Linked DNA regions of Homo sapiens: region 2 is linked to region 1. Evidence: promoter capture Hi-C in human tissues and cell types (Jung and others, 2019). All regions are on one chromosome and are shown on one strand. Each heading gives the region's core, a stretch centred on a gene start or on the middle of the fragment in contact. The rest is flanking DNA. Distances are from core to core; before and after follow the strand shown.

Region 1 (3,943 bases), core at 297-2,796:
AATGTCGTCCTTCAGCCGCTTGTTGTAGGACTGCAGCAGCGTCTCCTTGCTCTGGGGCAGGGCTCTCTGCTGGGCCATGGCCGAGCCTCAAGCAGCGCAGCGGGGAGACCTGGGACCTAGAGTGCAGCACAGACCTCTGAGTGCAGGCAGAGTCTACCCCAGCCACCCTCTATGCCCCAACCTTAGCAGAACACGCAGATTTCTGGGGATTCCCTTTCTGCCAAATAAAGTCAATCACTGAAACACAGATGAACTCATTCCATCAGCAGACACCGCAGGGGGTGCCAGGACTGGCCCCGCCTTTGCCAGAGCAAGCTCATCCTGGAACTCCTGGCCAGCCCTCCAAGCCCTGTCCAGGGCTCCAGTCCAGACTTCACGTCCAGGCCCACAGCGTGTCCCAGGGAGCCCTGCAAACTCAACACCAGCTCCCCGTCCCCAGCCCTTGGCTTAACTTCTTAGCCCGCCGCCACCTTCGCCACGCCCTCCCATCCGAAGAGTCCTTCCAATTCGACCCCTCTGCACCGCCTACATCCACGCTTTCCTTCCACTCCCACTCAGGCTGCCCCGCTCCAGACCTCATCCCTGCACTGCGGGCCCCGCTCCCTCCAGTCTCTGCGCGGCAGGGAAGAGGTCCTAAAAAGTGGTCATTCCAACCGGGCGCGGTGGCTCACGCCTGTAATCCCAGCACTTTGGGAGGCCGAGGCAGGGATCACCTGAGGTCAGGAGTTTGAGACTAGCCTGACCAACATGGTGAAACCCCAACTCTACTAAAAATACAAAAATTAGCCGGGCGTGATGGCAGGCGCCTGTAATCCCAGCTACTCGGGAGGCTGAGGCAGGAGAATCGCTTGAACCCGGGAAGCACAGGTCGCAGTGAGCCGAGATCGCGCCACTGCACTCCAGCCTGGGCGACAGGGGGAGACTACGTCTCCAAAAGAAAAAAAAAAGGGGGGTAATTCCACTCCCTCGCTTAACATCCCTCATGGTTCCCCGGTGCGCCGGGACAAGGGGCTCAAGTTCCGCGCCGCGCCTCTCGGCCTCTGCCCTCCAGCCGCACTGGACGGCCTCGGCGCTGGAGTTGCCTGGCCCTGGGGCCGGGCCTTTGCGCGCGGTGCTCAGGGAGGGCCCGGGGCCCCCTAGGTTCGGAGTCTGGCGCACGACCGAGCGGACTCCTGGACGCACTCGCATTGTTTGTGCCCATTTTTGGCGGGGTGTGGGAAATAAGTCACACGCAGGAAAGGGGATCTCCGACCCCAGCGCCTACGCACCCACCCACCCCCACTCCCGCCCACACACCCACCCCCCCTCCATCCCCACCCCCCACCACACCCTCATACCCGCCCCAGCGCCCGCACACCAGACGCCGCGTCCGCCGGGTCGGCCTAGGGCGGGGTGGTCAAGTGCCTCTGCGACCCGCACTTTCCCGCGTCTCTCCCACGGCCTGGCCCTCCCGCCGCAGTCTCTCTTCCCCGCCGCGCCGCGGTCCGAAAACCTAGTCAGCCGCCGCAGCCTCTCGGCCCCGCCTCGATTTTTAGCTTTATAGGAATGCTGTTGCTTTAAATCCGAAATCCCGTGCCGGTATCAACTCTCGCGATCTCCGAGGCCGCATACATATTACCCACAATTCCCTTTCCTTTCTCTCTCCTCCCGCCGCCCAAGATGGTGAGTGAGCTGTAGTTCCGTGGCACTATAGCCAGGTTCCGGCTGTATCCGCTGCCATCCTCCTCCAGGCGCGGCCTCGGAGGGCCTCCTGCTCCTCCTGGCGCTAGGAGAGCCCCACTCGGTGTGGCACGGAGACACCGAGGTGGATTAGAGCCCCACTTGGTGTGGCACGGAGACATTGAGATGGACTAGAGCCCCGGGCGGCCGAGAGCGGAATGCGTTGTTCCCGGTGTCGCAGGGCTGGGTGTCGCAGGCCTGGAGCACCGCAGTGCGGGGCTCGGAGCCCTAGCGTCTCTCGGGCTTGCTGGGGGCCGCTCCAGAGGCCTTGTGAGCGACGAGTTCTGAGCCCGCCCCTGTTGCTTCTAGAGCCTGTGGGGCCGCGACTCAGAGGAGTCATGAGTCCGGGGTGTCTCCTGGGTGGGCGACGCGAAGAGAGCGTGGTCTCGGGCTTAGCCTTGCTCTGGCCACTCGGGGTTCCCGGGGCTGCATGCTTGTGCGGCTGAATGTGAGATGCTCCTGTCGAGGGGTGGTGCTGGGGGGTTGCAGAAAGCTGCTCGCCAGCTTAGTTCAGGCAGGTGCTGTCAGCGTCCCTTGTTTTGGAGGAGCCAGCCTGAGCCCTACCCCCGACGAAGCGAGTGGAGGCGGCGGTTTAACTGACGTTTTCTTTCTGCCCAGCCGAAAGGAAAGAAGGCCAAGGGAAAGAAGGTGGCTCCGGCCCCAGCTGTCGTGAAGAAGCAGGAGGCTAAGAAAGTGGTGAATCCCCTGTTTGAGAAAAGGCCTAAGAATTTTGGCATTGGTAAGTAACAAACGGCAGAATGAAAACGGTCTATGTTTTTCTCAAGGGAAGGTGGTAATTGGGTTGTGTTGTATCTTGTAGGTTTTAGTGGGTGTAAAGTGGTCGCAGTCCTTAATTTGTGTCTCTTAGAGACGGGGGCAATGATACATGCTTCTTGCTTTCATTGGGAGTTGCTGAGCGAGCATTCAGCTCAATATGGTAGTGGCCTTGAATTCAGCTTAGCCATCTGGAAACAAGTACAGTAGCAGTGTCGCAGCGAGGTACTAGGACTGCAATTCTGCTGTACTTCGTGGCACCTTGGCTTCTTGTTAGATGAGGAAAAGCATCGTGCTCTTTGTTCTCAGGTGTTTGTGTGCAGATGATGTAAAAGAATATTTGCTATCTGAGAGATGGTGATGACATTTTAAACCACCAAGATCGCTGATGCACCAACACCCTTCCTAGTGGCCCCAGACATGAACTTGACATGGAATTTGAGCCTCACTCGGTGTCACCCTTTACTTCTCAGGACAGGACATCCAGCCCAAAAGAGACCTCACCCGCTTTGTGAAATGGCCCCGCTATATCAGGTTGCAGCGGCAGAGAGCCATCCTCTATAAGCGGCTGAAAGTGCCTCCTGCGATTAACCAGTTCACCCAGGCCCTGGACCGCCAAACAGGTGAGGTTCTGTGGCGTGGAAAGGAGTTTCTCAGGCAAGGATTCCTTATTTCATCCAGAACATGAGGGGGATGGTCTTAGGCTTCTTGAACTGCAGTTGTCATTAAATTATAGTCATATAGCAGGACCGCAGTCCAGCATTTGTTATTAAGTGTTAAGTGACAAGGATTAGAACCTTGACTCCAAGCCTAAACTGAAGAGTGTTTTTCCAGCTACTCAGCTGCTTAAGCTGGCCCACAAGTACAGACCAGAGACAAAGCAAGAGAAGAAGCAGAGACTGTTGGCCCGGGCCGAGAAGAAGGCTGCTGGCAAAGGGGACGTCCCAACGAAGAGACCACCTGTCCTTCGAGCAGGTGAGTAGGCCCCACCTTAGGGTGAACACTGGGGGCGGGCTGTTGCAGTGATGTAAAATTTCTTGGCCTGAAATTACTGTGAAGAGTAAAACCGAGCTTTTTAACACTGAGTCAGCAGCTGAGCCCAGCAGCTTCTTGTGACTAGAGCAGGCCCTGTGAGTGCTCACAAAGTGGTTGTGTGTTCTAGGAGTTAACACCGTCACCACCTTGGTGGAGAACAAGAAAGCTCAGCTGGTGGTGATTGCACACGACGTGGATCCCATCGAGGTGCGTTTGCCTGTTGACTGCTAACCCAAGGGCTTCTGGCAGTACCAGGAAGAGAGAGTAGACCTAATGCCAAGTCAGTGATGGGACCGAAGTGGGTGAGGGCAGTACTGACACAGATCCAACACATGCGTGGCTCTTGCAATGATGTGAATCTCTCACTGAATTCAACCTTGAAGTGCGAATCCATGAGCTTTTTAACCCTGAGCAA
Region 2 (4,195 bases), core at 274-2,773, 710 kb after region 1:
GCACAGCAGCCTAGCCTTCAGGCACTCCACAGAGGGAGGACAGAGGGGTGCTGCCTCCAATGCCACACCCTGGGGCAAACCAGCCAAGGGGCAGCGGCTGGACCATGGGGGCATCTCCAGCCTGGCCTGGGCCCAGAGCAAAAAGTCCTTATTTGGGGTCCAGGGATGGGGAGTCCCAGCTTTCAGCAAACAGGCAGGGTTGGGAGGACAGCTTACCAAGGCCATTCCAGCTATAGCATGAGTCTGGAGGAGCAGTGGCAGGGAGGGGCAGGGCTACATAGCTCTGCAGGGGCTCAACCAGACCTGCCAGCTAAAGGGTGGGAGACAGGAGCACTGGAACCAAGGGTGGGGGTGCTGGAGGAAGCTAGGGGAGGCCTTTCCCAGGGGCTCCCCATTCCCCATGGGTCTCCAGCCCTGGAATTTCCATAGCTCTGGGCCTCTGTACCTGTGTCCCTGACTGGATGGCCCCCACTGGGGCACTCCAGCCCGTCTCCTGGACTCTGTCCTGCGTCAGTGGGGGTCAGATGAGCCCCATCTTCCATAAGTGGAGGGGACGCTCAGAGGTGAAGGGGCACAACGTCGCCCAGGCAGAGAAGGCCAGAGCCAGCTTGAACAAAGCTGGACATCCATGCCAGACTCACCGCCAACACCCCACAGCCCCAGAATTCTCGGGATAATGCTGGGAGCAGTGCTGTGATCGGCTGTGGCAGGAGGGAGCTGAGTCTGTGAGAAGGGATCCCAGCCTGCTGCCCCCACAGCCCCATCTAACCCGGCCAACCTAGCACCTGTCCCCAGGCGGCCAGAGGGGCCTCCCCAGCCCACGTGGTGACCAGCGGCCACCCTCCAGGACTCGGGAAACTGGATCTGTCAGGGCAGGGCTGCCTTCAGTGACAGACGGAGCCAACTGCTTCCTTCTATGGAGCCAGGGGAGAAGTCGGGGGTTGGGGGCCCCCTGTAGCCCTGGAGGAGCCCTGGGGAGGGCAGCTGGGCATCGTGGGCCCCACCCAAGCAGGCACGGCCAGCCCTGGCGCCTACTCCCCAGGGGAATCTGCCCAGTGCTGTGAGCCCCCCATGCACAGCGCACCTGCTCTCCTGCAGCTGCCTGGCCGCCTGGAGGGCCCGGCTCTACAGGCCCAGCCCTGTCCCGGGGCGCTTCAGCAGACTGGTGGGGCTATCCTGGGGCATGGCCCCAGACACGCTGGGCAGGTGCAGCTGCCAGCGCTGCCTCTCCCGTGACTGTCCCCTGCACCCCACAGTTCTCCCCACTCTGCACCCACCAGTGCCTTCTAGACCTAAGACCTCATATGCCTCCTGCTTTCTGAACCCAGGGCCTGTGCTTCTCCATGGCCCCACGGCCCTGGGTGAGCGGCCTCTCTGAAGGTTTCCCTTCCTGCCATGACGCCCCCACAGCCTTCTGGCCACAACCCGTCACCTCTTCCAAGCTCCGTCCCTACCCGCCTCTCTACCCACTCCTCGAATAGAGAGGACTCAAAGGACGCTCTACCCCCGTGGGACCCTCATGAGGCGCGTGAGGAGGCCCGACCCTCCACACATGCTGGGAACGAGGAAGTTGGCCCCACAGACACTGGTCAGGCCCTCCCAACCCCAGGCCACCGCCACGTAGTCAGGGTCTCCCACGGGTCTGGGAAGGGCAGGAGAGCCACGACTCAGGCAGGGGACTCTCTTCAGAGGGGCAGTGAGTGAGGACAGCACCTGGCCCTTTAGAGGGAAGGAGACACCGTGCTCTTAGAGGGACACAGCCTCAGGGTCAGGCCCTGGTGCTCCGCACTTCCTAAAACAAAGCTGCGGCAGGCCCACCTAGCATCCATCTGTCTGCTCCATCTCCTCTCAGCCGGCCTGACAAGAACCAAACTCACAAAACACCCCGGCCCCAGGAGACAGGCCTGGCCTCACTGCTGTCCCACTCAGCCATGCCGAGCCAGGACAAGGGGCCAGCAGGGCCGCAGCTCTCAGACCATCCCCTTGGTTATTTCGTCTATGTTCTCTGCTCACCCCCAACCACAAATGCCGAGGACTGCAGGACGCCCCCAGGCCTGTTGCCGGGACAGACCGGAGGCAGAGCTAAGAGCAAAGCGTGGGCATGCAGCACATCTGTCTGTGAGTCCACAGCCCACGGAGCCACCGTGCTTGACCCTTGCCTCCTACCCAGCCCCTGGTACCAGCGAGGGCCTGGTCAGCATACCCAGGGCTCTGTCCTGTGGTGTGGGCAGATGGGGGCGGGTGGCACCCTGGACCCGCAGGCTCACACAGCTGCCCCTTTGCACATTTTGCTCCTTGTGGGATTGTCAGGCCAAGGCTCCAGTGACGCATGGCACAGGGAGGGCATCCTCTCAGCCGCTTATAGTAGATTCTTCCTTCTGCCACATGACAGGTTATAGCTACAATACTCAGCACTCCTGCAGGGGCCGGGCACCTCACACAGATGCATCTGTGCCTCATCTCGGTCAGTGCTCACACGGAGGCTAAGGCCGTCCCGCCCCAGAGTCCCACAGCTCCCAGGTACCGACTCTTAGTCCCAGGTCCTCACAGGTGCACTGAGGGCACTCCCTCTGCCCCAGACTCCAGGCCTGGCCAGCAGCCGCCTCTGCAGATCACACCCGAGTCCACTGGGTGCTTTGCAAAATGCTGCAGCTGGTTATCAAGCCACACTCAGAAAGATCCAGCCGGCGACTCCTGAACATCACTGCACCCTCAGCGGGACACTTTTCCAAGTGGCTGGAAAAGTTGTCTCCCACAATACCGGATTAACTTCTGACGAACTCAGTACCTTGGGGGCCTGCGGCAAGGAGGGGGGCGGGGGCATGTTCCACGCCCCATCTTCCCAACACCAGGCTCCGAAGGCCCTGTGAGGAGGCAGCCTGCGAACTGACTCTCAGGGAACAGCCACAGACTGGTGCGAGACGCAGACAGCCAACAGCACGGACACAACAGGGTCCGAGCCTCCAGCCACACGCACAGGTCCTGGCTCCACTGCGAGCTCAATCAGGAGTGGCCAGAAGACTTACAATTTAAACCACCAACAGGTGAATGGCCCAAAGTGACACTTTCTCTTTAAAAGAGCTCTCGGTCAGGCATGGTGGCTCACACCTGTAATCTCAGCACTTTGGGAGGCTGAGATGGGTGGATCACCTGAGGTCAGGAGTTCAAGACCAGCCCGGCCAACATGGCGAAACCCCATCTTTACTAAAAAATTAAAAAAAATTAAAAAAAATAGCCAGGCGTGGTGGCGGGCACCTGTAATCCCAGCTACTTGGCAGGCTGAGCCAGGGAGAATTGCTTGAACCCAGGAGGTGGAGGTTGCAGTGAAGGGAAATCATGCCATTACACACCAGCCTGGGCAACAGAGTGATACTCTGTCTCAAAATAAGTAAATAAATAAATGAGCTCTCAAGCATCTTGGCCGAGCATGGTGGCTCACGCTTGTAATCCCAGCACTTCAGGAGGCAGAGACGGGTGGGTCACTCACGGCCAAGAGTTTGAGACCAGCCTGGCCAACATGGTGAAACGCCATCTCTACTAAAAATACAAACAAACAAACAAATAAGCAAGCCCTCAAGCCTCTCAGATGGCAGGAGCCCAGGAACCAGAGCAGGGAGGCCCGGGCACAGGGGCCCATGATGTCTGTGCCCATGATTTCACAGGAAGGAGAATAGGCAAAGAAAACCCTATGCTCCGCCACCAGCTGGGCACCTCTACAAGGTGGCAGTACCAACAAAAACACAGGAGCAAGGCCATTCTTGGCAAACGCTGACCCAAATGCACCTGGCACCCCATCATGCTTTGCTACCTGTGCATCTCTTCTGCTCCAACAAGGGGGCGGAGCCACAGGGGTCGGGAAGGCCCAAGGCAGACCCGCAAGTTCCAAAACCTTTTACGGCAAGAAGCCTTGCATTCTACCATGATTCATCCAGTTACCTTCTAGCTTCAACCAGATACTGGCTTCGTGATATAAGGGACCTGCTGGCTAGGCACGGTGGCTCATGCCTGTAATCCCAGCACTTTGGGAGGCCAAGGCAGGTGGATCACGAGGTGAGGAGTTCGAGACCAGCCTGTCCAACACAGTGAAACCCTGTCTCTACTAAAAATACAAAAAATTAGCTGGGCGTGGTGGCGGACGCCTGTAATCCCAGCTACTTGGGAGGCTGAAGCAGGAGAATTGCTAGAACCCGGGAGG

What was found. Contacts are between HindIII fragments. The study calls those that stand out against the background at their distance.
Region 2: a fragment that was not itself captured here is called in contact with the fragment with the promoter of MED22 in region 1 in 1 of the 25 tissues and cell types used here (dorsolateral prefrontal cortex).

The regions. Positions count from the first base shown.
Region 1 is chr9:133,346,585-133,350,527 of GRCh38, forward strand. MED22 (mediator complex subunit 22) reads right to left here and starts at 1,547. Exons shown (of 5, transcript NM_133640.5): 1 at 1,338-1,547; 2 at 1-116. The coding sequence starts at 78. RPL7A (ribosomal protein L7a) reads left to right here and starts at 1,634. Exons shown (of 8, transcript NM_000972.3): 1 at 1,634-1,662; 2 at 2,338-2,458; 3 at 2,967-3,116; 4 at 3,328-3,468; 5 at 3,656-3,735. The coding sequence starts at 1,660. It overlaps SNORD24 (small nucleolar RNA, C/D box 24), which reads left to right and starts at 2,812; the gene lies at 2,812-2,886. SNORD36B (small nucleolar RNA, C/D box 36B) reads left to right here and starts at 3,510; the gene lies at 3,510-3,580. It also overlaps SNORD36A. RefSeq lists enhancers at 1-125, 1,430-1,724, 1,586-2,055. The HindIII fragment of the contact is 21,529 bases long and covers 1-3,943 here.
Region 2 is chr9:134,061,160-134,065,354 of GRCh38, forward strand. All of the region lies in intron 1 of BRD3 (bromodomain containing 3), which reads right to left. Among named protein-coding and RNA genes, the nearest start is that of BRD3, 4.8 kb to the right of the region's middle. RefSeq lists an enhancer at 1,430-2,341. The HindIII fragment of the contact is 7,576 bases long and covers 1-4,195 here.